Linked DNA regions of Homo sapiens: all the other regions are linked to region 1. The links are contacts of gene promoters, found by promoter capture Hi-C in blood cells and fetal thymus (Javierre and others, 2016). All regions are on one chromosome and are shown on one strand. The core of a region is centred on a gene start or on the middle of the fragment in contact, and the rest is flanking DNA. Distances in the headings are between cores, read along the strand shown. Region 1 holds the start of ZNF451 (zinc finger protein 451). Region 2 overlaps DST (dystonin). Region 3 overlaps BEND6 (BEN domain containing 6). Region 4 overlaps DST (dystonin). Region 5 overlaps DST (dystonin). Region 6 overlaps PRIM2 (DNA primase subunit 2). Region 7 has its middle 16 kb from the start of LINC03001.

Evidence for each region. Contacts are between HindIII fragments. The CHiCAGO score rates a contact against its expected background, and 5 or more counts as called.
Region 2: a contact is called between a fragment that was not itself captured here and the fragment with the promoter of ZNF451 in region 1, in 12 of 17 cell types (erythroblasts, megakaryocytes, naive CD8 T cells and 9 more). The highest score is 15.0, in erythroblasts.
Region 3: a contact is called between a fragment that was not itself captured here and the fragment with the promoter of ZNF451 in region 1, in 4 of 17 cell types (erythroblasts, megakaryocytes, fetal thymus and 1 more). The highest score is 7.0, in erythroblasts.
Region 4: a contact is called between a fragment that was not itself captured here and the fragment with the promoter of ZNF451 in region 1, in 1 of 17 cell types (erythroblasts). The highest score is 6.5, in erythroblasts.
Region 5: a fragment that was not itself captured here is called in contact with the fragment with the promoter of ZNF451 in region 1 in 1 of 17 cell types (erythroblasts); the score reaches 5.6 in erythroblasts.
Region 6: a fragment that was not itself captured here is called in contact with the fragment with the promoter of ZNF451 in region 1 in 3 of 17 cell types (non-activated CD4 T cells, naive CD8 T cells and total CD4 T cells); the score reaches 5.4 in non-activated CD4 T cells.
Region 7: a contact is called between a fragment that was not itself captured here and the fragment with the promoter of ZNF451 in region 1, in 1 of 17 cell types (naive CD8 T cells). The highest score is 5.8, in naive CD8 T cells.

The regions. Positions count from the first base shown.
Region 1 is chr6:57,088,464-57,092,416 of GRCh38, reverse strand. ZNF451 (zinc finger protein 451) reads right to left here and starts at 2,229. Exons shown (of 15, transcript NM_001031623.3): 1 at 2,143-2,229; 2 at 1,523-1,606. The coding sequence starts at 2,163. RefSeq lists a silencer at 2,171-2,240 and enhancers at 1,661-2,543, 2,411-2,560. The HindIII fragment of the contact is 8,135 bases long and covers 1-3,953 here.
Region 2 is chr6:56,903,637-56,907,388 of GRCh38, reverse strand. All of the region lies in intron 2 of DST (dystonin), which reads left to right. Among named protein-coding and RNA genes, the nearest start is that of DST, 49 kb to the left of the region's middle. The HindIII fragment of the contact is 4,334 bases long and covers 65-3,752 here.
Region 3 is chr6:56,959,363-56,963,012 of GRCh38, reverse strand. All of the region lies in intron 1 of BEND6 (BEN domain containing 6), which reads right to left. Among named protein-coding and RNA genes, the nearest start is that of BEND6, 6.1 kb to the right of the region's middle. The HindIII fragment of the contact is 4,055 bases long and covers 1-3,566 here.
Region 4 is chr6:56,884,591-56,888,405 of GRCh38, reverse strand. The region is part of intron 3 of DST (dystonin); the gene reads left to right. Among named protein-coding and RNA genes, the nearest start is that of DST-AS1, 43 kb to the right of the region's middle. RefSeq lists a cis regulatory region at 773 and an enhancer at 689-858. The HindIII fragment of the contact is 2,019 bases long and covers 1,176-3,194 here.
Region 5 is chr6:56,921,309-56,925,217 of GRCh38, reverse strand. All of the region lies in intron 2 of DST (dystonin), which reads left to right. Among named protein-coding and RNA genes, the nearest start is that of DST, 32 kb to the left of the region's middle. The HindIII fragment of the contact is 2,747 bases long and covers 1-2,676 here.
Region 6 is chr6:57,332,683-57,336,583 of GRCh38, reverse strand. All of the region lies in intron 5 of PRIM2 (DNA primase subunit 2), which reads right to left. Among named protein-coding and RNA genes, the nearest start is that of PRIM2, 17 kb to the right of the region's middle. The HindIII fragment of the contact is 4,202 bases long and covers 1-3,901 here.
Region 7 is chr6:57,245,628-57,249,696 of GRCh38, reverse strand. It overlaps a transcript of PRIM2 not described here. Among named protein-coding and RNA genes, the nearest start is that of LINC03001, 16 kb to the left of the region's middle. The HindIII fragment of the contact is 1,912 bases long and covers 357-2,268 here.

The DNA of each region.
Region 1 (3,953 bases), core at 980-3,479:
TGTATCATGTCAGATATTCAATGATTGTACATTCTTTACTCTTGATGCAAAGACGGAAGTGATCCTCTACATTCAACATAAAATTTAAAGACTCCTTTAAACCAAAGGTGAACTCAAGCCTACATTAACTAGTCACAAGCTACACTGTAATTCATTACACAAAACATTTTTCAAATATTAAGAGATGCTACTCGTGTTTCTCAAAAAGGGCCATAGTTCATAAAGAAGTATGTCATTCCTAGTATTATTTCTACTAAACACCATAAGAAAAAAATTCTCTTCACAAATATACCAAGATTCAGGAAGAACCTGAAATATCTGTCCTCAAGAGCCATGGAAACCTGTTATTAAACATACTTCAGCGCATGGTGAAGGAAAGGACAGGATACAATTCACCCCCATCCTCTACTCCAAATCCGTAGAAGATCAAAATGAAAAGGAGAGAGTACAACATACACTGGTAAAGGGAAAGAAATTCAATAAAACAATCTTGTGAAGGACTCCTAAACAAATCTATTAAAATACCATACAAAAATGAATTACCAAAATGGCCCTAATGCTGGGAAAGAAACTGTTTAATAACCAATTTTACAAGGTTTCCCAGCATCCACCATAAATGCACATCTGACACTCAACGAAAAATTCTACAGCTTGAATACCAAACTGCAACTAACTACGGCATTCCAAAAGACGAGTTGGGGACAGAACCGTTTTCTGCCTGGCGAGCTGAGATACCACTTTACGCAAAGCCTTTCTAAAACTCCAATAATTATGGAAGAAAATCACCCCAAAATACATCATAAAACACTCTCTTCTGCTTTGGAAACCCATGCTGTACAAAGTGTGCTCAGAAATCCTTATGTCCCTGCACTTGTCTGAAAATGAAGATTCCTAGGCCCCCGCCTGGAAATTCTGATTCGGTAGGTCTGCAGTGGGGCCCAGGAATCTGCCTGTTTATACTTACTAAGGCTTGAAAACTACTGTCTCAAAGGGAACAAACTCAGAAAAATAGAGCATGTTCCCAGTGATGTAGGATTCTTCATTATGAGCATCAACTGTACTATGCCGTAACATGATGATCTCAGAGGTTAGAGAAATCTTCAAGCTATTTGCCTTCATGTTAGAAGCACCATAACGCTAAGATTCTGGGCTCTCACAACCCTTCCTGTTTTCTACGTCCTTGCTCATCATTAGCAGCTCCTTCCTCCGTGTCGCCTTTAGAAGTTACTCTTGCTCCATTTCAAAACAGCGTTTTAGACACCAGCGTTTTTATCTTAAGTTTAAATGAAAGGCAGGGGGCGAGATTAAGTGTACAGCACGTTCTTTAGGACGTGCTCTTTGTGATGGCTACGGGGGTGGCTCAGATAGCTCTTTTGGTAAATTTCCCAATCCTGCGCCATGCTCCAGTGTCTAGTATGTATTAGACACTCATGAACATTAAATGACCAGGTGAGGTAACATTACATAATGGCCCACCATAGTCTTTTACTCTGGGAAAACCCCAATCATCATTGCTACTTACACTGACAAACTGAATGTCGTCTTCATTTTCATCCGTTGTTGACTCAGATGCCTCAGGGCCAGCTGGAGGGACAGATTCTATTATCTATAAAAACAAGCCAAAACATGCTTATCTGTTCAGCCACATTCGTGTAGGAAGAGAGCGTTTCCGAAAGGAACAATTAAAGACAGAGAGCTCTTGAGGAAAACGAACTGAGCACAATTTCACGGAAACCCGACTAGGAACGGAACTCGAGCTCTGGCTCTTGCCACAGAGTGTGCGGAGCTGCAGGGACCCAACGCTGAAAACGCGTTAGTTACCAGCCTCTCACAATTCCCCTTATCTACTCCAGGAGGAACGCAAGCTCAACACCGAAGGGCAATCCTGCCTTAAAACGTCGCTCCCACTGGCCCAGCCGCGGCCACAACGAACGCCAGGGCCCGTGCGGGGGGCCGGGCGGCCATTGTTGCTGCGGGTTCCTCGCTCAGACACGCACCAGGCCCCAGAGCTGGGCTCGGCCCAAGACACTGAAGAGGTATCGCCCCGAGGCTGCGACGGAGCACCAGGCCTCAGACCGCAGAAAACACAAACCCTTCGCGGTTCGCCTCTGAGAACGCCAGGACCCTCACTCGACTACTCACCTCCGACCCCGGGTCTCCCATGTCTCCGACGGCCGCGCTGACAGCACCACTGCTCCTGCTGTCCCTGCCGCCGCCGTCGCCACGAATCCCCTTCCCGCCCTGCACCGCCTGGCGCTACCGGGACCCGCCCCTGCGTGAGCGCCGACGCCACCGGCGGAAAGAGACGCAAAACCTCTTCAAAGGAGGAGCGGCCCTTACTGGCCCGCTATGCCCCCGGAGCCGCTTTCTCTCACTCCCGGGCTTCCTTCCCCGCGCCGCGCAGGATGCTGGGAATTGTAGTTCGGGTCCGCCCCGAGACCGCCCCTCGCCGGAGAGGAAAAGAACCATGCGCCTAAAAGACGCCAGCTGCAGTGGGTGGGGCGAAGCCAGGGGCCAGCTGGGTCCTGTGAGATAGCGAAGCACTGGGAAGATGTGGGAGGATGTGAAGGAGGGTTTGAGTTGGTATTTGTTTGGTTTTGGTATGGTTGTGAAGCGCAGCTCATTGATTTTTCTGTTTTAGCCCTGAAGGTGGGTGGTGGGAACGGATTTCTCTTTTTTTCCTTTCATTTTTAAATTTATGTATTTACTCATTTTTGAGGACAGGGGCTATGTGGAGGTTTAGCTGAATCCTAGGATCAGGAAAGAATCTGAAGTATCCTTACATTACACACCTCTTCCCTAGCGTCAGTCTCCCAGGCCCTGCCAGTATTAATACACCTGAGGAAGAAAATAGGGATGGGAAATCCAGGGCCCAATAGGAAAGGGAACCGAGGTCTACCTAACTATCACTAAACCCTAGCCAGTGATTTTGAAATGCACTTTTTCAATATTCTCAGATATACTGAGAGAATATGAGAGATCTATTTATAGACTGCTGTAAGGTTGACCTTTTAACCTTTTGTGTGTTCACACTCATAAACCAGTCTATAAAATAGATCTTTTATATTCAACTATGCATTTAATCTGTTCTCAGGTAATACCTTACCAAAAATTTAAAAAGGTTTTTTAAAAAAACACACCAATCGTTGTCAATAAAGTTTATGAAAAGAATTAAGTGATAACATTATTTTAGGCCAGGCGGGTCCTCACACTCTGGGAGGCCGAGGCGGGCGGTTCACTTAAACCCAGGAATTCGAGACCAGCCTGAGCAATAAGAGGGAACCTCGTCTCTACAAAAAATACAAAAATTAGCTAGGCGTAGTGGTCCTTGCCTGTAGTCCCAGCTACTCAGGAGGTTTAGGTAGGAGAATCGCTTGAGGCCGAGAGATTGAGATCCAGGCTGCAGGGAGCCAAATTCATGCCACTGCACTGCAGCCTGGGTGACAGAGCAAGACACTGTCTCAAAAAAAAAAAAAAAAAAACACAAATTATTTAACATCTCAGATTCCTGTTTTTGTTTGTATGCAAAACTACCATCTGATTGCCTAAGCCTGTAGTAATTATTGTTTAATATTTGACATTTCCTGCATTTCCACCAAGTGCTTTATGACTTTAGTTACTTTCTACCTAGTAAGTTTGAGACTTGTGGAAGCCAATTGAGAATGACAGACGTGCATGGGGAGTTCTTCAAAAGCTGTGTGTAAATTAAATATTTTTAAAACGTTAATGTGTAGGCAAAACTTGTATTTAAAAGCTCTTCCTAGTGGGCTGGTGAAAGTGTCCTCTAATATTTAATCAGTTGAGGCAGGAGTTAATGGGTAAAATTCTTGGAAAACAAGCAGTATGTGGCTAGACCCAAAAACTTCTCACACCATACAACTCAGTAACTGTAGTTGCAGGGATTTTCCTGAAGATACATCACAGGTTTTTTTATAACAGCAAAAACTGGAAAA
Region 2 (3,752 bases), core at 982-3,481, 190 kb after region 1:
AACCAAACAGCCTGGTTGTCTGAGAATTCAACCTCCAAGGAAAATAGCTAACCACTTGCAAGCTTTAACAAAAATTGTGTGCGTTACAGATTTTTGTTTGTAGGTAACAGGACCTGACTGTCTGACTTAAGCCAATAGAGAATTTAATACAACTAGATTGTGGAACTCACAATCAAGACTGGATGTCTGGTTAGAACAAACAAAACCAGGCAGCTTCAGAAGGTCTTTGGTGTAGCCATTGGAACTAATGAACTCCTGATTTTTTTCAGTCTTTACTTGCCTCCATGTAATATTCACAGTCCAAGCAGAGAAATTTGAATTCACTGAGTCTTGGTTATGGGCTTACCCATGAGATGTACTGGGTTATTATTAAGAGGGAAGATCTAGAGTGGGCTCTGGAGCATCTTGGTGTAACTATGTATGAAGACATTACTCATCATTGGGAAATGCAAATAAAAGCTACAGTGAGCTATCACCTCACATCTGTTAGGATGGTTGTCATCAATAAGCCACAAGATAAGTGTTTGTTGATGAGGAAATGAAGCGGCTACATTATCTGGGGTAAATACCCGGGGTTCGTTGTCTTGCACCAAGAAAATTTAGGACAGGGACACACTTGAGGAGTTTAGGGGCAGAGGTTTAATAGGCAAAAGAAAGAGAAAGAAAAACATCTCTCTCTCTAGTGAGAGAGAGGGGACTTCTGAGAGGAAAAGGCTGGCAGGCAGTGGATGCCCCGAATTTTATAGTCCAGCTTGAGGAGGTGGTATCTGATTTTTGTAGGGCTCACAGATTGATTTGATCAGGTGTGACGTCTACATAGCGGGCCTGGAGGGCTGATTACCCCACCCTAATATTATTATGCTAATGACTCTTCCCTTGGCCAGCACCATTTTGTCTTCTTCTTACTGTACACGTGGCTGGCAGAGAAGGGAAGATGGAGCCATCATTTTGAACACGTCTAGTCCCAGGTAGTTCTTTCCTGCAGGCATCCACCTGTGAAAGCTCTCAGCTTGCTTGTCTATGTCTGCAGCTTGACTTTACAGGCTGTTCTTTGTTAGAAAATGATTTGGGGCTGCTTTTCGTTAAAGGGAAAATCTGACTGAGGACTTTTGTACCCTGAGTATCTGCCTAGTAATTTCTTCTTAACTCTGGTATCAGAAGGCTATGGAGAAATTGGAACCCTTGTACACTGTAGGTGGGAATGTAAACTGGTGTAGCCGCTATGCAAAACAGTATGGTGGTTTCTCAAAAAGTTAAAACTAGAATTACCATATGATCCAACAATCACACTTCTGGCTATATGTACAAAGGGGTTGGAATCAGGATCTTGAAGAGTTATATATGCTCCTATGTTCATTGCAGCATTTTTCACAGTAGCCAAGATATGGAAACAATCTAAATGTCCGTGGAGAGATGAGTGGATAAAGAAAGTGCAATATAGGCTGGGTGTGGTGGCTTACACCTGTAATCCCAGCACTTTGGAAGGCCGAGATGGGTGGATCACCTGAGGTCAGGAGTTCAAGACCAGCCTGGGCAACAAGGTGAAACCCCATCTCTACTAAAAATATAAAAATTAGCTGGGTGCGGTGGCCTGTGCCTGTAATCCCATCTACTTGGGAGGCTGAGGCAGGAGAATTGCTTGAGCCCGGGAGGTGGAGGTTGCAGTGAGCCGAGATTGTGCCATTGCACTTCAGCCTGGGTGACAAAGCAAGACTCTGTCTAAAAAAAAAAAAAAGTAGAGAAAAAGAAAACGCAATATATGCATACAATGGAATAGTACTCAGCCTTAAAAAATGAAGGAAATCCTGGCATATGCAACAGTATGAATGAACCTGGAGAACATTATGTTAGGTGCAATAACTCAGTCACAGAAAGACAAATACTGAATGATTCCATTTATATAAAGTATCTAAATTAGTTGAATTAATAAAATCAAAGAGTAGAATGGTAGTTGCCAGGGGCTGGAGGGAAGGAGAGATAGGAAGTTGCTATTCAATGGGTATAAAGTTTCCGTTACGCCAGCTGAATGAGTTCTAAAGATCTGCTATACAACATTGTACCCAGAGTTAACAATACTGTATTGTGCACTTAAAGGTTGAAGAGAGCAGATCTCATGATAAATGTTCCTCACACATGCACATACACACCACACAAACACACACACACACACACGAGTGCACATCTTGGGAAATGATTATCCAAAAGGGGCTGATAATTTGGGGTGTCCTAAAAATGATAGAAGTCCACTACTGACAGGCTTCCAAGTGTCCATCACCTAATGGTTGAAGAGTAACTCTTATTGGCCGGGCATGGTGGCTCACGCCTGTAATCCCAGGACTTTGGGAGGCCGAGGTGGGCAGATCATGAGGTCAGGAGATCAAGACCATACTGGCCAATGTGGTGAAACCCCATCTCTACTAAAAATACAAAAATTAGCTGGGCATGGTGGCACATGCTTGTAATCCCAGCTACTCAGGAGGCTGAGGCAGGAGAATCACTTGAACCCGGGAGGCGGCGGTTGCAGTGAGCCGATATTGCGCCACTGCACTCCAGCCTAGCGACAGAGCTAGACTCGGTCTCAAAAGAAAAAGAGTAACTCTTATTAACACCTGGAAGAACTTATAGCACCACCTACTGTTTCAAGCTAAAATTTCCTCTGTTAAAAGACATGGCTTTTTTTTAATATTACTTAGGAGAAGAAAGTGTCATAAATCAAGGAGCTGTAATTCCTTACAGTTATTTAGGGAAATAAAGGTGAACGGTCATCGTTGTTTATAGTGTTTGTAATCATAGCTGTGAGCTGCTGATGTGTAAATTGCTGCTGCCAGATCCAGGAAGTGAAGCAGTAATAATAATGATAATAATGTATTAAGTATTTTTTCTATGCTGTGTACTGTTCTGAGTACGTAATGTGGATTATCTCATTTAAACACCCCATTACTCTACAAGAGAGACGTATTGTTATATGCATTTGACAAATTAAAGAAGAAGCAAGGCACAGAGAAGTAATTTAGCCAAGACCACACACCTAGTAAGTAATAGAGCTGGTATTATATTTGAACCCAGGTAGTTTGACTCACTGGAGAGTAACAAAGAACTCTCTCCTAATGATCGGTACCTCACATGTGTCTGTCTTCAAGGCACACCAGCAATGTGACTCATTTTCCTATTTCCACCTGATTTCTTTTTTAGATAGTATGAATAATACACTATTGTGTTCAAGACTATATTTTATTCACACAAGTAATATCCATAGTAATTATAGTGAATGTTTCTGTACTACTACGTGCTAGGTACTCTTTGAAGTACTTTACCTCCATTACTTTATTCTTTTCAGCAACCCTATGAATTACTATTTTAATCCTTATTTTATAGGTGAGGAAATAATTAAGTAACTATTCAAGATCATACAACTAGGAAGTGACAAAGGCAGTATTAGAACCCAGATAGTGGCTGCAGAGTCTGTGTAGTATACCACAGTGCTTATAAATAGTTATTTTAAAATAGTACAAGTAAATTTGGGTATAAAAGAAATAACTGAGGCAGTGCTCAGATCTGGAGAAAAAATGTTAAGGTGGAATGAAGATGCCTGAAGTTTAGGAAAGACTGATTTAAGTGGTTTAGAATTTTTGGCCGCATGCGATGGCTTACACCTGTAATCCCAGCACTTTGGGAAGCTGAGCTGGGCAGATCATGAGGTCAGGAGTTTGAGACCAGCCTGGCCAACATGGTGAAACCCCATCTGTACTAAA
Region 3 (3,650 bases), core at 290-2,789, 130 kb after region 1:
TAGGAATAAGAGTAGTACCTACTCAGGGCTGCTGTGAGGATTGAATGAGTAAATGCACGTAAAGCATTTAGCAGAGAGTAGATACTCAATAAGTGCTAGCTGTTGCTACAGATAACTAGGTGGTCCACATCAAGGTAGCCATTCAGTAATGAGGATGACCAGTGCATGTTATTCCATGCCTTCTGGGGAAGTGGCACAGGTGAATAATGATCATACCAATCAACTCCCAGGGTGCTGTTGGTGCCCCTTAATCTAGGCACTAAGACCTAGACTTTTAACAGCTCACCAGATGGCAAACCACCAGGAAGTCTGATACATTAACTACAATCCTGCAATATCTTCTCTAAGTAGATTCCTGCCTCATTACAAATGACCACAGACTGAAAGTGTGCAAAGAACAGTGCCCACTAGGCCCAGAGGGGGGTCTGAGGCACCCAGGAAATCATATTGATCCAAGGTCTGTTTCTGTGTGGAATGCATGAATGTTATGTCACCAAACCCTAGAGGATCAGAACAGAACTTGGAGCAAAAAGAACTAGCCACACTGAGAGATCGGGATACGTCAGGAAACTGGACTTGCCCACTGGAGTGAAACAGTCACATAATGAAATAACCAGCTTCATACTGTAACAATATGTGATCATGATGATGTGACATTGAGACCTAGTATCCTGGAAATATGGTGGTGGAGAGGGAGTTGAGGTCCACAAATATGGCAAGAGTGGTGTCTTGGTCTGTTTTGTGCTGTTAAAACAGAATACCACAGGCTTAGTAATTCATAATGAACAGAAATTTACTGGCTTGCAGTAATATCAAGGTGCTGGCATCTGGTGAGTGTCTTGCTGTCTTGCTGTGTCATCACATGGTGGAAGATGAAGATGAGAGAGAGAAAGAGAGAGAGGAGGCTGAACTAGCTCTTTTATAACAAATCCACTCCTAAAGTAACAGCATTAATCCATTCATGAGGGCAGAGCCCTCATGGTCTAATCACCTCTCAAAGGTCCCACCTGCCAATACTGTCACAACAATAATCTAATTTCTACATGAGTTTTTGCAGAAGTAAAAATTTAAACCATAGCATTCCACTCCTGGTGGGACGCTAGAAACAACGAGTAGGTGAAGCTGAACAGCTGGATGGGCAGTCTTCCCACCAGAGTGCAGAATCACCCTGGTGGGATTGAGGGCACCAATTACCAGGTCTGCAGACTCCACAGTAGACTGTTGAATGTGGGCTTGGGGAAGGATTTAGGAAGAGTGGTGGCTTTATTTACCAGAATGTCTGTGAGTTGTTTCTGGGAACCTAATACTAATTCCTTTTGTCCCTCTTTTAGGCCTTAAGACTATAGCAATTTTTGCAGACTGTGAACCCAAGACTACCTTTTAGGACTAGTCCTATTGGCTTGGAATGGGCTTATCCATTCAAACATCTAGCTATAAATTGGGTAGTTAATTGGCATGAAGGCAGCTTAGGAATCAATTTATCCCTTCTTTCCATAACAGAAGTCTATGGAAGTGGTCCTAGATTGTTAACACAGTCTTTTCTCCTCTTAGGGTTACAACTGACATCCCAGTGGGAGTTACCTTAGGTGACTCATTTGTCTCCCTCCCAATATGTTTAAAGATGCTAGAGGACAAATTAACTCCCAGCACATCATCTCCATTTAGTCTTTGGGTGGCAGCACTCACCTGCACTTGGGAGACTTATCTAAACTTTTATAGTTTAGAACAGAAAGTTTCCTTTGCTAACCATGGACGGATAGTCCCCAAGACACTTCTTACAGTCTCAGGGGTACCCAGGTGCTGCCATTGTTGATGGATCAAATGACTTATACGAGTTCAGAAGCCTCAGTACCTATGTGGATTTGCATGATTCTGATGATTCTCATTGTGGGAGTTGGGGGAGAGCTCATTAAGAATCTAATGAAAGGTATGGATCATGTCCTCAAAATGAGACACAAGTTTTTACATGTAATTTCAGGTCTCTAGAAACCTACTCATGAATTCCAGTTTGAACTTCTACAGTAGAGATAGGACTGGCAAGAACAGGCTTTAGGTTAATGGCTTTCTTCTTTGAAATATAAACTCTACTATATTCCAATTTGTGTGTTTGCTGTTTGTTGCCCTGTTTTACTCCATAAAGTATTTGTGGCTACAAAAACATTTTAAAGATGTACTTTTCTTTCTCTTCCTAGATTCATGGGATGTCCTTACATTGAGGTATCAATAATCTCTGGAACTATATATTATTAATACATCTTTTACTAATCATCAGTTGCTCATCACAATTTTCTGCTCTCCTTGGTACATTTAGTACTTCTGCTCTCCTAGTGACAATATTTTTTCAGGCTATGAGTGCATTGATGCATTAGCATACAACTCTATTAGCACAAAATATTTAATGCAAAAGTCCTAAATGACAAAGAATTATTGTAAGAAATAGGGGAACTCTAGCTATTCAATGTTGCTGTAGTTTTATTATCATCACAACCTAGAACTTAATTTGTAGATAATAACCAAAATTTTATTCATCTTGTAACATTTGCTATGCAATAATAAAGCTCCTACCTTACTTTTTTATCTTTTTACTTAAGAAGTGTAGAAGTTTCAGATGTAGAATGTTTATAACTTATATGGCAAATTTCATCTTGGATCTAGAAGGCAATATCTTCAGCTTTCAAACTTGCTTTGTAAATTGCCCATTCTTAGAAATGGTGGAAATATTTTATACCATCGGAATAATAATGAACGATATTGCTCAGCGATTTATAACTCTAAGAGCTTTATAATTTGATTTATGAACAGTTCTCAAATTTTCCATTGGCAGTTCATACAACTATGAGTAAATTTTCTGGCCAAATGACTCAGTATTTTGTGGCATGACTAATCCCACACTCAATGTGGAAACTATATAAATAAATTCTATTTGCTTGTGGATAATAAATGATTACTTTCCAAAAACTGTCTGCAAAGCATTATATAGTAGACGAATTCAATTATATTGATGTTTTTAAGCTCCCAAACTCAGCTGACTTTTTTGAAAAGTCTGTAATGCTCACACACCCAAAAAGAACTCCCCTCACATACTCCTGGAATTATCATGGCTTCGGCAGTGTGGTAACCCATAGAACAACAAAACCTAATTAGGCTCTACAATAGCTAAAATGTTAAAACAACAATCTGAAATAATTCCATTTGCAATATTTTCTCAGTAGTTTTAAGTTATTTTAAAAGTTTTTATTACGGTAAAATAAAGCCCTTTACCAGGGAATATTTGCTGAAAATAATATTTGATATTACTGCAAGTTACAATTATTTTCCTTTCAAAAACTCAAATATTAAAAAGAAAATAGTAATCTATCCACATGATGGTTTCCCTGGTTCTGGTGGCTGGAAATCACCTCCAAATTTATTTTAGATGAAGTAGGTTCTTCCAGATGATATAGCTCCTTTACCTTTTAATACAAGCACATGTAAAACACTTCACCTAGAAGCAAGGAAGTTACCAGGCCAAAATCAATATGCTTTATTTCTAATAATTTATTGCTAGAGCCATTCTTACCTAAGCTTCTTGTTTTCAAGGGGTAATATTTCAATGTAATGTCCTTGTGTGATTACCAACTGGGTAATTTACTCACTTCCAGATAAATTGG
Region 4 (3,815 bases), core at 936-3,435, 200 kb after region 1:
GAATGAATTGATTAATAAAGTCAAATTTCTTTTGCTAATTATCTGAAAAGAATTTTTTTGAATGACACCCATTCAATGTACTGAGTCTTTGCTACATATTGCTGTACCTCCCTTTTTAGGTTCATAATTAATAGAATTTTATAAAAGATTTCATTTATGGCCAGGTGTGGTGGTTCACGTCTGTAATCCCAGCACACTGGGAGGCTGAGGCGGGCGGATCACGAGGTCAAGAGATTGAGACCATCCCAGCCAACATGGTGAAACCCGTCTCTACTAAAAATACAAAACTTAGCTGGGCATGGTGGCACGTGCCTGTAGTCTCAGCTACTTGGGAGGCTGAGGCAGGAGAATCGCTTGAACCCGGGAGGCAGAGGTTGCAGTGAGCCGAGATCGCACTGCTGCACTCCAGCCTGGTAACAGAGCGAGACTCCATCTCAAAAAAAAAAAAAAAAGATTTCATTTATTATAGGCTTGCTATAATAAATTACAGTAAGGTATTGGAATAATTAATGCACAGGGGCACAAGAATGTGCAAGGTAGGTAGACTGTATTGAATGAACAGTTTAGTCTCTATAAACAACTCATGAAACCAAGATTAACTTGGTAAAGGGATTCATGTGTTCTGCTTGGAGAAAAATAAGCATGTGTTCATAACTCATGATTCTTTTTTGAGGTCAGTATTTTGACTGAAGCAAGACCTCTTGCCATTCTTTCTATGTCTTTCTTGTATGTGATGACAACCTGTTGTCTTAAATAAAAAAAACCTTAAATTCTTTAATCTCCAAACCAAGGAAACTTAAAGAAAACATTTAGATAGTCACTTACACTTTGAAAATTTTCATGGACAACTATGGATCAAAGGACTGAAAAGAAAGCCCCTTCAAAGATGGTCTAGTTTATTATTTCACCTCTAACCAAAGAAATCCTTAAATTGCTCTGGTAAGATGGGTATAGCTTCCTTTATTTTAAAGGACACAGCCATAGCTTACCTCAGAATTCTGTTTGGAATTTAACAGCCATCTCTGCCTGAAACAACTCCTTGATCTTTGCCCTAAATCCCATGCCTTACAATTTAAGACCATTTCTTATTGTGGTATCCTCTGTGGAGAGGATGAAGCATAGCCACCTGCTACCGTGTCACTCTCAGTCTTTGTGAATCAAAGAATGTTAAAGCTTGAGGGGATCTTAGAGCTCATCTGACTTAACAGTTTTTGTAATGCTAGATTCCTCTCTGCTTCAGTACTTTTAGTGATACAATCTCCTACCATTAAATAGTGCTAATTAGCAGCAAGTTAATTGTACTTGAAAATCAATAAATTGTTTCTTTTCTAGGCTCATGGTTCTATCTCTCTGAACTTTTCTCCTAAGTCTAATTCTTAATTTTTCCAAACATCATTTTTGTTTTACTCTTCTAAACCACCTCCAAGTGAGTGATAAGGGTCTGATTTCTCTCAATATTTTCTGTCTCTCTCTCTTTATTTATTTATTTTAGTTCTGAGATGATGATTGTGTTTCAAAAAAATCAATCTATGGAAATTGAACAAAATTTAGTTTGTGCTTTGGGAGATGAGAATTCAGTTCTAGAAATGACAGTAATGTTTCAGGAATTTTTTTTTTTTTTTTTTTTTTGAGACTGAGTTTCACTCTCATTGCCTAGGCTGGAGTGCAATGGCACGATCTCCGGCTCACCGCAAACTCCACCTCCTGGGTTCAAGCAATTCTCCTGCCTCAGCCTCCCGAGCAGCTGGGATTACAGGCATGTGCCACCACACCCAGCTAATTTTGTATTTTTAGTAGAGACGGGGTTTCTCCATGTTGGTCAGGGTGGTCTCGAACTCCTAACCTCAGGTGATCTGCCCGCCTCGGCCTCCCAAAATGCTGGGATTACAGGCGTGAGCCACCATGCCTGGCTGTTTCAGGAAAATTATAGCTTTGGAGTAGTACTTCGTAGTTAAGTAGCACTTCATACTTTCAAAGACTGCTCATATTCATTATCTCCTGAACAAACACCCTGTGTGTTGGGTATGGCATATATTATTGATCCAGTTTGACAAAACTAAACCTCAGTGAGTAGGTGATTGGCTTAAGTTCATAAGGTCAGTTAGAAGCAGACCTCTCTCATCCTTGCAGTCTGTTGTCTCCTGTGTTTATCCTATGTTTATTTAGTCTTTATCTCTGACAATGCTTAGAGAATTGGGTGAGAACTTCCAGGGAGAAGAATATAGATTCCATTTGACTGGAGGAATTATTCAGTATCCCAATGTGACTCATTCCCAGGGAGTAGCTTTACATCTTTGAGAGTCTGCTCACAGCCTGCATTATCTGTGTTGGCCACCCTAGGCTACCTGTGTATTGGCAAGTCCACTTTGGTCTAATACTATCAAGCCCATGCTGCTCCTCCACACACCCTATTCAATTATGAATTGGTAAATTAGATAATCAACTCTGATACTGGGTAATACCACTGGCTAATCTACATTGACCCTTGCTACATGCAGCTCAGTATTACTAAGATCGATGGGGATCAGACACTGTCTTAGTCCATCTGTGTTGCTATAAGAGAATACCTGAGACTGGGTAATTTATAAATAATAGAAATTTATTTTCTCACTCTTCTGGAACCTAGAAAGTTCAAGACCAAGGCATCAGCAGGTTTGGTATTGGGTGAGGTGTTGTTCCTCAGCGATGACACCTTGTTTCTGCATCCTCACCTGGTGGAAGGCAGAAGGCAAAGACAGCAAGAGAGAGCAAGGGAGCTCTTTGAAGCCTTTTTTGTAGTGGCATTAACCCATTCATGATGGTGAGCCCCCATGACATAATCACTTCCAAAAAGCCCCTCCTCTTAATACTGTCATATTGGGGATTAAATTTCAACACATGAATTTTGGGTGGGATACAACATTCAAACCAAAGCAGATACCTAAGCAAATATGTTGTTAAAATTAAGTTTATATACCCTTGTGCACTCTTGGTGGGAATGTAAAATGGTTCAACTGCTATAGAAAACAGTATGGTAGGTCTTCAAAAATTAAAAAATAGCATTATCATATGAGCCAACTATTCCACTTCTGAATATTGAACCCTGGCACATGAATTGTACGCAGAGTTAGTCTCAACTTGAAGCCAAGCCTTTTGTCCTTCACCTCAGTCAGTCATTGGTTATGGGCTGCTAGGGCTGGGGGTGTGAGGAAGCTTTAGGTTAGGGGAGTCCCTGAAGGGGAGGGCGGCTATGAGCCATTAGCAGCCAACCCTCACAGTAGCCTGTATGTGAGTCCATTGGCCAGGTGGAAGGGATGCAGCCAGGACACTCATAGAAACCATCAATCACAAACTTGTTGGATAAATGGCTGATTCCAGACCTGAAACAGAAAATATAGAATGAGCTTCACAGCTCACGCCTGTAATCCCAGCACTTTGGGAGGCCGAGGTGGGCGGATCATGAGGTCAGGAGATCGAGACCATCCTGGCTAACATGGTGAAACCCCGTCTCTACTAAATATACAAAAAAAATTAGCCTGGCGTGGTGGCACGTGCCTGTAGTCTCAGCTACCTGGGAGGCTGAGGCAGGAGAATGGTGTGAACCTGGGAGGCGGAGCTTGCATTGAGCCGAGATCGCGCCATTGCACTCCAGCCTGGGCAACAGAGTGAGACTCCATCTCAAAAAGAAAAAAAAAATGAGCTTGGCACATCTTGTCAAACTCGAAAGCAAGGAAGCATCAAAGACTACTGGGATCATGTCAGCACCAGGAGTAAACTTGGAGAGGCTCCTACTGCTGTTGAAGGAAGAAGGAATGATGAAATTACAATTTTACCAC
Region 5 (3,909 bases), core at 54-2,553, 170 kb after region 1:
TGTGATGTTAGCCAGTTCCATCAAAGTTTGGCATGAGATGGAATGTCCTGATCCTCTTCCTCCTATCTTATTAAATTAAAGAAATACTTTTATTAAAGCAAGCATTTGTGATATGGATTTTTCTTTAAACTCAAATGACCACATATAGAACTCAGTGTCCCCCTCCTCCCCATCTCTTTCCTACTATGCTGTTGGTAATGTACTTTTCAGTCCTTTGTTACAGGTGTTCTAATTATAAAAGGAATAAGCTGGATTAAGTAAATTTCCATAGCACAGGAAAGTGGCCTCTAATTAAGCCTATTTTGAATTTTTACTGTGAATGAGAAGTTACTTAGGAACATTTTAGGGGACACAACATAGGGTGAAATGAGAGATCTCTCCTGCACTGTGGATGGAGAGTCACTTATTCAAACACATATGTCACTTATTTTAACTTAATCATAAGAAGTATGGGCTTCTTGTGATTAAGTTAAAATAAGTGACATATATGTTTGAAAATTAGAAATGATGGCTTTGTATGTTTCCAGTACCAAAAAAAAACTAGCTCTCTTTCTGTGTTTAATTTATTGCCTTGGTAAAATTTCCTTCACCATAAGAGAATATTAGTAGAAATCGAAGATGACCAAAGCTGAGAAGAAACCAATATAATTGCTTGTATCGGCAAGACACCATGCTCTCAGATTTTCTTGTTTAAGCATATTAAACCTGTCCTCAGGCTATCTTTGAACACAGAAAAGCTGAACTGTGTGTGTATGTATATACATACAGATAAACACAAATATAAATATTAAAAAATATATAACATCAGTCTCCATCCATTGGTGAGCTGGAGCTGGGGATCAATATGCATATAACTGGCTCTCCAGGGAGAGCTATCTGATAGGGAGCTATATCAGCTAGGGAGAGCCAGTTTTATGTTTATCGTTCCAACTCTGCGTTCAGTGATATCATGGCCATGATGGGAGTGTTTATACCATGAATTTTGGCAAGCACTATGTGATGGTTAATTTTATGTGTCAACTTGGCTGGGCCATGGGGTACCCAGGTACTTGGTCAGACATTTATTCTAGGTGTTTCTGGGAGGGTTTTTTTTTGAGATGGTGGCTTGCTCTATCGCCCGGGCTGGAGAGCAGTGGCGTGATCTCGGCTCACTGCAACCTCCGCCTCCCAGGCTCAAGCGATTCAATTGCCTCAGCCTCCTAAGTAGCTGTGACTACAGGCATGTACCACCATACCCTGTGAATTTTTGTATCTTTAGTAGAGATAGGATTTTGCCATGTAGGCCTGGCTGGTCTCAAACTCCTGACCTAAAGTGATCCTCCCGCCTCAGCCTCCCAAAGTGTTGGGATTACAGGCATGAGCCACCATGCCTGGCCATAGGGAAGGTGTTTTTGGATGAGATTAACATTTAAACTGGTGGATTTGAGTAGACTGCCTTCCATAATGTGGGTGGGCCTCATCCAATCAGATGAAGGCCTTAATAAAACAAAAAGACTGACCTTCCCCTGAGTAAGAGAGAATTTTACACTTGAGTGCCTTCAGATTTCAACTGGAACATTGGATCTTCCTGCTCAATGGCTTTTGGACTAAAACATTGGCTTTACTTGCATCTCCTGAACCACTGGCCCATCCTGTAGATTTGAATTAACCAGCCTCCAAATTGCCTGAGCCAGTTCCTTATCTGTTTTGTTTCTCTGGGGAACTCAGACTAATACACCCTACATCAGGATTTTTTTTTTTTTTTTTTTTTTTTTGCCAGTGAGCCGGTTTACCAGCATCCACTCTCTCCATCTAATCCAGGGAAAAAAATCAAAATTCCCAAATAAGTACTTTCTGATCACTGTCTCTGTCTAAGCTAAGGAAAAAAATCAACAAGTCCCAAATAAAACTTCCTGGTAGGTAATCTTTTTAATATTCAGGCAGTTTCCTTCTATTCTTATTTTACTCAATTTTAAAATCAATAATTTCTCCTGAACTTAATTGAATTTTAAAAATTTAAGGGAATTTTTGAGGTACCTATTGATATAATTATTTCTCCTTTAATTTATAACTGTAGTGAATTACAGTAATGAGTTCCCTATTGAATCAGCCATGATTTCTTGGAATCAACTTTATTTAGTCTTGGAATATTATTATTTTAACTCACTTTGATAGTTCTGGCAAGATTTTATTTAGGACTTTAAAACTTATATGTTAGATTGATGTATACTTTATTTCCTTGAGTTTATCAAGTTTTGTTTTTAGATTGTGCTAGGATCTTTACATGAATCTAGAGTTATTTTTAGCTTCTTAATATTAATTTTAATTACTTTGAAACAATAAAATTTAGTAATGTTTAACAAGCACCCATTATAATTGCTAAACTGTGAAATCAGCATTATTTGTATCTGACCAGCTGTACAAAGCTCATCCATTTTTCTTTTGACAAAAGGTAGTAGAAATTCCAAACAATAAAGAAGAAACTACTCATTAAAAGTCATATTTGCTAATCTAGCACCATAATTCCAGTCTTAGAACCATTCATGCAGCTGGAAGGAGGATATGGAAGAGGTGAGAATACCAGAAATGTAAGGGTAGTTCTCAAATTGGGGCCCCATTTTGCTTGCTCTAAGGCAAAAAAAACAGAGGGTTTAGCAAAGAAGAAGGTCACTGAGGCTAGAGATGCAAACAAAAGCTTTTGGTTCAGATGGTAAAGGAGACCCTCAAGAGAGTAGAATCAGTGTATCTATAAGACAGTGCCTCATGAACTAGGCTCCAACCTTCTTGGCATCCAAGTCCTTTTTAATTTCAAGTTTTTTAGCCAGGTTTTGTATAGTATGCCATAGTTCTGAGCCAGTTACATTCCAACCACATTGCCCAAAGTAAATCAAAGCAGGACCTGGACCATGATGTTGGTAGGGAAGGTGAGGAGGGAACGAAGGGCGGCTGCAGCTCCATGGGCTGGCCTGATGAGAAAATTTTTATCTTTTTCTATTTCTTAGAATAATTTGAAAAATATAGGAATGACCTGTTGTAGGTTAGATAGAACTTGACTGTACACACATAGCCCTTTTTAACATAAGCAGTATGCTTCTGGAAATGGGAGTGCTAACTGAATCAGTGCATGGGAAAACAGAGATTTTAATAGTCAATGGGAATAGGAACTTATATATTTTAATGATATATATATATGGAGAAAGGATACATACGTATATATGTATGTATTTAAGGAAATAATTTCGTAAACAGCAATATAATAATAATTCAGTGCTGTGTGTTTAGCATTTAATGGGGGCTATGTGTGCAAAGTCTTTGTGCCTAGAACCTTTTTTCATGTTAGATCTTTCTCCTATCCTCTTTTGTATCTTCTATGGTTATAGTCCATTTAGATTTTTCTTCCTTTTTTATATGTTGGAGATAAATATACGAAATAACAAAAAGATCCTTTTCTGCCGGTAGTCTTCACAGTTTTGATTGCACCCCCACCAGTGAAATAAATTTGAGCATGCACACTCAATATGTATATGTATTTACGTATCAATTATATACATATACATATACACCTATTCTAATATATTATGTAAAACAGATTTCAACATGAGAAAAATGCAGTTAAATGTGCTTCATTATTTTAAAAAATCTTTAACACTATGTGAATTAGTAATTCAATGTCTGGTTTTAAAGTCAGTTTATTTTGATATTTGATTTTAGTCATTGCTATCTCAAAAAAAGATTCAAATGGAAGAAATGCATTGATAACTGCTCTTACTAATCACGATATTTGTTTTTCAAGTTCATCCATAGATTATGCAAAGTTATTTAAAAATAAAATTTACTAGCAAATTTTCATCTTTCTTGATGTCAACTGATTTTCTTATAATCTGAAGGTGTTGATATTTCTACTTTTAACAAATGATTACAGAACTCACT
Region 6 (3,901 bases), core at 826-3,325, 240 kb before region 1:
GTTGAAAATTCTTTTCTTTAAGAATGTTGAATATTGGCCCCCACTCTCTTCTGGCTTGGAGAGTTTGTGCCGAGAGATCCACTGTTAGTCTGATGGGCTTCCCTTTGAGGGTAACCCAACCTTTCTCTCTGGCTGCCCTTAACATTGTTTCCTTCATTTCAACTTTGGTGAATCTGACAACTATGTGTCTTGCAGTTGCTCTTCTCGAGGAGTATCTTTGTGGCGTTCTCTGTATTTCCTGAATCTGAATGTTGGCCTGCCTTGCTAGATTGGGGAAGTTCTCCTGGATAATATCCTGCAGAGTGTTTTCCAACTTGGTTCCATTCTCCCCGTCACTTTCAGGTACACCAATCAGACGCAGATTTGGTCTTTTCACATAGTCCCATATTTCTTGGAGGCTTTGCTCATTTCTTTTTATTCTTTTTTCTCTAAACTTCCCTTCTCGCTTCATTTCATTCATTTCATCTTCCATTGCTGATATCTTTTCTTCCAGTTGATCGCATCGGCTCCTGAGGCTTCTGCATTCTTCACGTAGTTCTCGAGCCTTGGTTTTCAGCTCCATCAGCTCCTTTAAGCACTTCTCTGTATTGGTTATTCTAGTTATACATTCTTCTAAATTTTTTTCAAAGTTTTCCACTTCTTTGCCTTTGGTTTGAATGTCCTCCCGTAGCTCGGAGTAATTTGATCATCTGAAGCCTTCTTCTCTCAGCTCGTCAAAGTCATTCTCCGTCCAGCTTTGTTCCGTTGCTGGTGAGGAACTGCGTTCCTTTGGAGGAGGAGAGGCGCTCTGCTTTTCAGAGTTTCCAGTTTTTCTGTTCTGTTTTTTCCCCATCTTTGTGGTTTTATCTACTTTTGGTCTTTGATGATGGTGTACAGATGGGTTTTTGGTGTGTTTGTCCTTTCTGTTTGTTAGTTTTCCTTCTAACAGACAGGACCCTCAGCTGCAGGTCTGTTGGAGTACCTGGCCATGTGAGGTGTCAGTCTGCCCCTGCTGGGGGGTGCCTCCCAGTTAGGCTGCTCGGGGGTCAGGGGTCAGGGACCCACTTGAGGAGGCAGTCTGCCCATTCTCAGATCTCCAGCTGGGTGCTGGGAGAACCACTGCTCTCTTCAAAGCTGTCAGACAGGGACGTTTAAGTCTGCAGAGGTTACTGCTGTCTTTCTGTTTGTCTGTGCCCTGCCCCCAGAGGTGGAGCCTACAGAGGCAGGCAGGCCTCCTTGAGCTGTGGTGGGCTCCACCCAGTTCCAGCTTCCTGGCTGCTTTGTTTACCTAAGCAAGCCTGGGCAATGGCGGGCGCCCCTCCCCCAGCCTCGCTGCTGCCTTGCAGTTTGATCTCAGACTGCTGTGCTAGCAATCAGCGAGACTCCGTGGGCGTAGGACCCTCCGAGCCAGGTGCGGGATATAATCTCCTGGTGCGCCGTTTTTTAAGCCTGTCGGAAAAGCACAGTATTCGGGTGGGAGTGACCCGATTTTCCAGGTGCCATCTGTCACCCCTTTCTTTGACTAGGAAAGGGAACTCCCTGACCCCTTGCACTTCCCGAGTGAGGCAATGCCTCGCCCTGCTTCGGCTCGTGCACGGTGCGCGCACCCACTGACCTGCGCCCACTGTCTGGCACTCCCTAGTGAGATGAACCCGGTACCTCAGATGGAAATGCAGAAATCACCCATCTTCTGTGTCGCTCACGCTGGGAGCTGTAGACCGGAGCTGTTCCTATTCCAAAACCATTTTTTTAATTGCAGTAAAAACATATCAATCTAATTGACTCCGAACTTCTTCACAATACAGGCATATGCTGCTTCTGTATCCTCCGTAATATTACTACCCAGCATATATTCCATGCACAGTACTAAGCACTCTATACGCACTACCTCATTTAAACCTCACTAATCTGTGAGGTGAAAATCGTTATTATCCTCTTATTTCTTTGAGAGACAGGGTCTTGTTCTGTAGCCCAGGGTGGGCTACAGATCATAGTCCACTGTAGCCTCCAACACCTGGGCTCAAGTAATCATCCCACCTCAGCCTCCCAAGTAGCTGGATTACAGGTGTGCACCACTACACCCAGCTATTTTTTATTTTTTGTAGAAATGAAAAACAATATGAAAGTTCCTCAAAAAATTAAAAATAGAACCACCATATGTTCCAGCAAAATCTATTACTGGGTATGTATCTGAAGGAAATGAAATCAGTATGCTGAAGACATCTGCACACCCATATTTACTGCAGCACTATTCACAATAGCCAAGATACGGAATCAACCTAAGTGTCCACCGATAGATACATGGATTTTTTTAAATGCAATATATATACATAACGGAATAATATTGAGTCATAAAAAAAAATGAAAATCCTGCCACTTGCAACACCATGAATGAAACAGGGATATTACGTTAAGTAAATAAAGCCAGGCACAGAAAGACAAATATGTCATGATCTCACTCATATGTGGAATCTAAAAAAGTTGATCTCATAGAAATAGAGGGTAAAATAGTGATTACCAGTAGCTGGGGTGGTTAGGGAGGAAAAGAGGTTAGGGAGATGTCTGTTAAAGGATGCATAATCACAGTTAAGAGTATTAAGTTCAAGAGACCCATTGTACAACATGATGTCTACAGTTAATGACAACAAACTGTATTGATGAAAAATGCTAAGTGAGTGGATATTAAGTATTTTCACCACAAAAATAACTGTTGATGTAATACATTTGTTAATTAGCTAGATGTAATCATTCCACAATGTACCCTTCAAAACATTATATTTTACAGTGAATACATACAATTTTATATTCAATTTTTAAGTAAATTTAAAAGAAAAAAATTAAACACAGGAGGGAAAAATAAATAAATAGAAAATTGAGAAAACAGTTGATGAAAGTTTTCAGAAAATAAAATAAAAACACAAAGATTGAATGTCAGGACCGAAAAGAAAATAAGAGTACCAATCCAGAAAATATAAATTCCACCTAACAAGAGGTTATAAAAAGAGAACATAGAAGAAATTATTAAAGCAATAATAAAAAGAAATTTTCTAACTGAAGAATCAAATCTTCAGATTAAAAGAGTCCACCAAGTTCCCAACCCAAAAAAGTGAAAAAAGGTGCAGACATCGCCATGAAAGTTCACTACACAAGAGAGTGGGACTGGCAAAGGACACAAAGTTACATGCAAAGAATAAGAAGTCAAAATGAAATCAGGCTTCTCAAGAGCAACTCTAGAAGCTAAAAGGTTCAGCAAGCAATATCTCCAAAATGCCAATAAAAAATATTCCCAACATACAGGTATTTGCCTGTATACCAAGGCAAACTACACTCAAGTTTGACAGTATTATAAATACATTTTTCATACAATCTAGAACACAAAAAGTTTACCTCTGTTGATATATTAAGAAATAATTTGTATGACCATACTAGGACAATGGCAGGGAGTAGGGAACAGAGCATATGGGAACAAAAGTTTGTACACTATTGAAATTAACTTAATGCTAATCCCAACTAGATTGTTTTAAAATAAAATATAATTGTAATTCTAAGGGAAACCACGAAGAAAATAACTCAAAAAATACAGTAAAATAAACAGCAAAGGAATTAAAATGGTACACTAGAAAATACCATTTTAATACAAAGAAGGCAGTAATGGAGAAATACAGAAACAAAAAAACCTTAAGACATAGGAAACACATAGATGGCACACGGAAATACTAAGTTATCAGTAATTAAACATAAATGGATAAAACAATCCATGCAAAAGTCAGAGACTTCCAAAATGAATAAAAAAGAAAAGAAGATGATCCAACTATATGATATTTACAACAAACACACTTTAGATTCAAACACACATAAAGGATGAAAATAAAAAGAATAGAAAAAGACATATCACGTAAACAACAACCATAAAAGATCTGGA
Region 7 (4,069 bases), core at 63-2,562, 160 kb before region 1:
GGTCTCAGCTCACTGCAACCTCCTCCTCTTGGGTTCAAGCGATTCTCCTGCCTCAGCCTCCTGAGTAGCTGGGATTACAGGCACGCACCACCACGCCAGGCTAATTTTTGTATTTTTAGTAGAGAAGGGGTTTCACCATGTTGGTCAGGCTGGCCTTGAACTCCTGACTTCAAGCGATCCACCTGCCTCAGCCTCCCAAAGTGCTGGGATTACAGGCATGAGCCACCACGCCCAACCTAACCTGGGTATTCTTTATGTCACATTAGATAACCTATAACCCCTCTTGGCAAACTTGGCCCTACTCAGACTGGACAGTTCTATGCTATTCTTACCCTCAATCTAAGCTAGTCTAAGCTTTGAAACAAGTAATCCTACTAGAAAAAGACTTCTTTCTTCCACAACTGACCTAATATGCATAATAAAGAAAAATTGCTCAGCAAATGTGAAGGGGAAAATATGCTTTTTGCAGAAGCAGGGAAGGAAAGGAAAAGCTAGTTTAGATTTTCACTCCTTAAGCATGTCACATCCTAGATGCAAATGTTTTTGGAGAATTATTTTAAAAATTTGTGGTGTCAGAGTCTAGCCTTTCAAATTTGCATGTTTTCATAATTGTCCTGTGATCATGGTTCAAAGCTAACTAAATCTGTTTCCCCAGTATATTAACGTGGTTTCCAAAGTGGAGCAATGAGGTCGCCAGCAGTTCTGCAGAGAACAATGTGCTAATAAGCAAATTGACTTGTGTGTTGTTCAATAAATTCTGTTATTTTGAAGTAATACATTAAGGATATTAAACGGAAATCACTAACTCACTGTAAGGTAGCTTTCAAACATTGCATTTTATCTCAAACTGCTATTGAGGCAGGAGAATAGGGTCTGGAGGCAGGGAGCCTAAGGCTCATTCATGCTGACTGGATATCAGAGGCTACTCCCTTTTCAGCCCCTCCTTTTTCCGAGGGGAAGTTGAAAAATGAAACTACCTCTGACTGGTCCCCTCCTGCAATGGATCAGACTGGTTGCAGGCCTACTCTTCATTCTGATTGGTCCCCTCCAACAACCAATCAGACTGGTAGTGGGCCACTACTTCATTTGCATAGAATAAACCAATGGGAAACCTCTAGAGGGTATTTAAACCCCAGAAAATTCTGTTACCTATGCTCTTAAGCCAGTTGCTCAATCCCACTCCCACCCTTTAGAGTGTACTTTGGTTTAAAATGAATCTCTGCTTTTGCTGCCTTGCTTTGTTTGTGCATTTTGTTCAATTATTTGTTCGAAACACCAAGAACCTGGACAACAACCCACCCTCAACCAATAACACTATTAAATGAAAGTTAAAGGAGTATGAGACTGAATCTAATATTGCTAGCTAAAGACAATTAGGTAAGTTAATAGGTGTGATTTATTGCTTTCTATGGATAGCAAAATGAACTTGAAGATCTCTTTGTAATTTAAATAAGTTGGCTCAATTTGAAACCGCTCCTACCATCTGTTTCCAGTGTTAACTTGCTGGGTGCCTGGGTACTCTTCTTCCTTGACCAACTCTCTGCCATTATAATTCAAAGTCACATGTAAATACACTTGGATACATTTGGTTACGCCACATGACTATGTAACATGTAATCCAAGATCTTATGTACACTCCTTAATTCCTCACGTGATCTCATTTTGATCATTAGTACCTGATCCAATTATTTTTTGGCTAAATTCAAAATTCTAAAGCAAACATTGAATTATATGCTATATTAACTAATATACTGTACTCAGTGTCTTGATTTTTTTTAGTCTCATTATTCTTTCTGGATTTCAGAATGAAACTCATGCTCACCCACTAGTCAGGGCTACAAATGTATCCAGAATGACAGTTTATTTTTAAAAGCCCAAATAGTAGGATTCCCTTCTAGGGGAAATCCTTTGAGTCATACAGAAATTAGTTGCCAAAGGTTTCTAGGCCATATCAAAAGGAAACCTCAAGATTCTTTAAATTATTACTTGAAAATTTTTAGTGTCCAAAATGACAACCTAAGATAGGATTTTGATAGTCCCATGAAACACCTCCTCACACAGAGCAACCACATAGAGAACATTTGCATCTCTTCTGCAGCAGCTATAAATGAGAATTTATACTATTACAGCAGTTTTTGCTATTTCTCATGGGTGCCTTTGACATTTACCTAGTGCTCAAAATACACCAAAAATAATTTTGCTCTGAATAAGCCTCAACTATAACTCTGTAATTTATTTCATAATACTTTTTAATCTTCCTTCAAAGCTTACTCATTGATGGATAATTATTAAGCACTTTACAAATTCCCAAAATTATGTGTGGTATAAAAACAGAGCCTTGAAATTTGACAAGCCCTAAAACTCATCACAATCTATCTAGGCCCGAGAAATGATGAATAATCATATACAACTCAGTCAATGTCACCCCTAGATGTTATGGCAATGAAGGAGGGCTAGCCTGAAAGGGATAAACCTAGTTGCCCAGCCACGTAGGAAAGACGATGGATACTCTAGGTGCAGGCAATCAAGAAATCAAGTCCAGGCCGGGCGCGGTGTGGCTCACGCCTGTAATCCTAGCACTTTGGAAGGCCAAGGCGGGCGGATCACGAGGTCAGGAGATCAAGACCATCCTGGCTAACACGGTGAAACCCCGTCTCTACTAAAAATACAAAAAATTAGCCGGGCATGGTGGTGGGTACCTGTAGTCCCAGCTACTCGGGAGGCTGAGGCAGGAGAATAGCGTGAACCCAGGAGGCGGAGCTTGCAGTGAGCTGAGATCGCGCCACCGCACTCTAGCCTGGGCGACAGAGTGAGACTCCGTCTCAAAAAAAAAAAAAAAGAAATTAAGTCCAGGGAGATCATCTGGTACAGGAAGGAGCACATGAGTACTCTATGGGCAGATGCAGAAACTGGCAGGTGAGAGAATCAGCAGGCAGCAGAAATGGTTATCTTGATAGACATCTGCCCAGCTCTCCTTGCAACGGTGGGCTGGCTGCCCCTCCCTGTTCGAGCTGGTTGGTTATCACAGTGTTCTCTCTTCTCTCACCATTCCCCATTCACCTGAGTACAGGCATGGATTTATTAAACAGGCTTAGTAAGTTATAGTACCTACACCCTGATTAGTGCATTGGGGGTAACTGTGCGCTCTGGGGTTTTGAATTGTTGCAACACCATCCTGTCTTTCACTCCTGCTCCTCCCCCATCACCGATAGGACGGCGTATCTCCTGGAGATTGGAGAGGAGCTATTGGTAAGAGTTGGGCCAAAACAAAACTGAGCCAAACTGAAGCACTTCTCCAGCTGTATTTCACTAACATCTTAGGAAACTTATATACTAGCGTAGGTAGAATAGTATTCTTTCTAGTTTCATAGCCATTTTCTGTTGGCCTCTGGGAGTTTTTCACTTCAAATGTAAGTAGTTATACAGGAACAAAGAGAGTTGATACCTTTGAAACATAGACCAAGGAAACATAATATCTTCTCCCCCGTAAATGGGCTGCAGAACAAGTAACACAGGTTTCTATAACACATTTTGTTAACAATTAAATAAGTTACAGGAAGGAAGCTTAGAATAAGAGAAAATAAAATAGTAATTTATAAGGAACTGGAGTTTTTTACAGTGTTGAGATATATGATTTGTAGATATGTGGATAAATGGATGGATAGAGATGCATGTGATACAATAAGTGTGCAAGCACAAAAATAATAGTCTGTTGGCACAAAATCAGAATTAGATTTGTATGTTTTCTATGACTAGAGTGACACCAATCAACTAATCTTTCTCAATAATTTTAAAGCTGTAACTTTATATTAAAAATTCATTGTGCTGCCATTTATAATCAGGTAATCCAAGTGCACTCTCATGCCCCAAACCCCATCCCCTGCACTATCCCAAGACCACTCCCTCCACCTCCATATTCTGGCATCAGAACCTTTACATCTGCAGGCACTCCTGATCTGATAATTATGTTCTTACTGAGCTATTGTTTGATCCCTTCCTTTCCAGAGAAGAGGAAGTATTTCTGAGTGGAAGCAGTTACACCAGACCAGGAGCTTAGACTATCAAAATG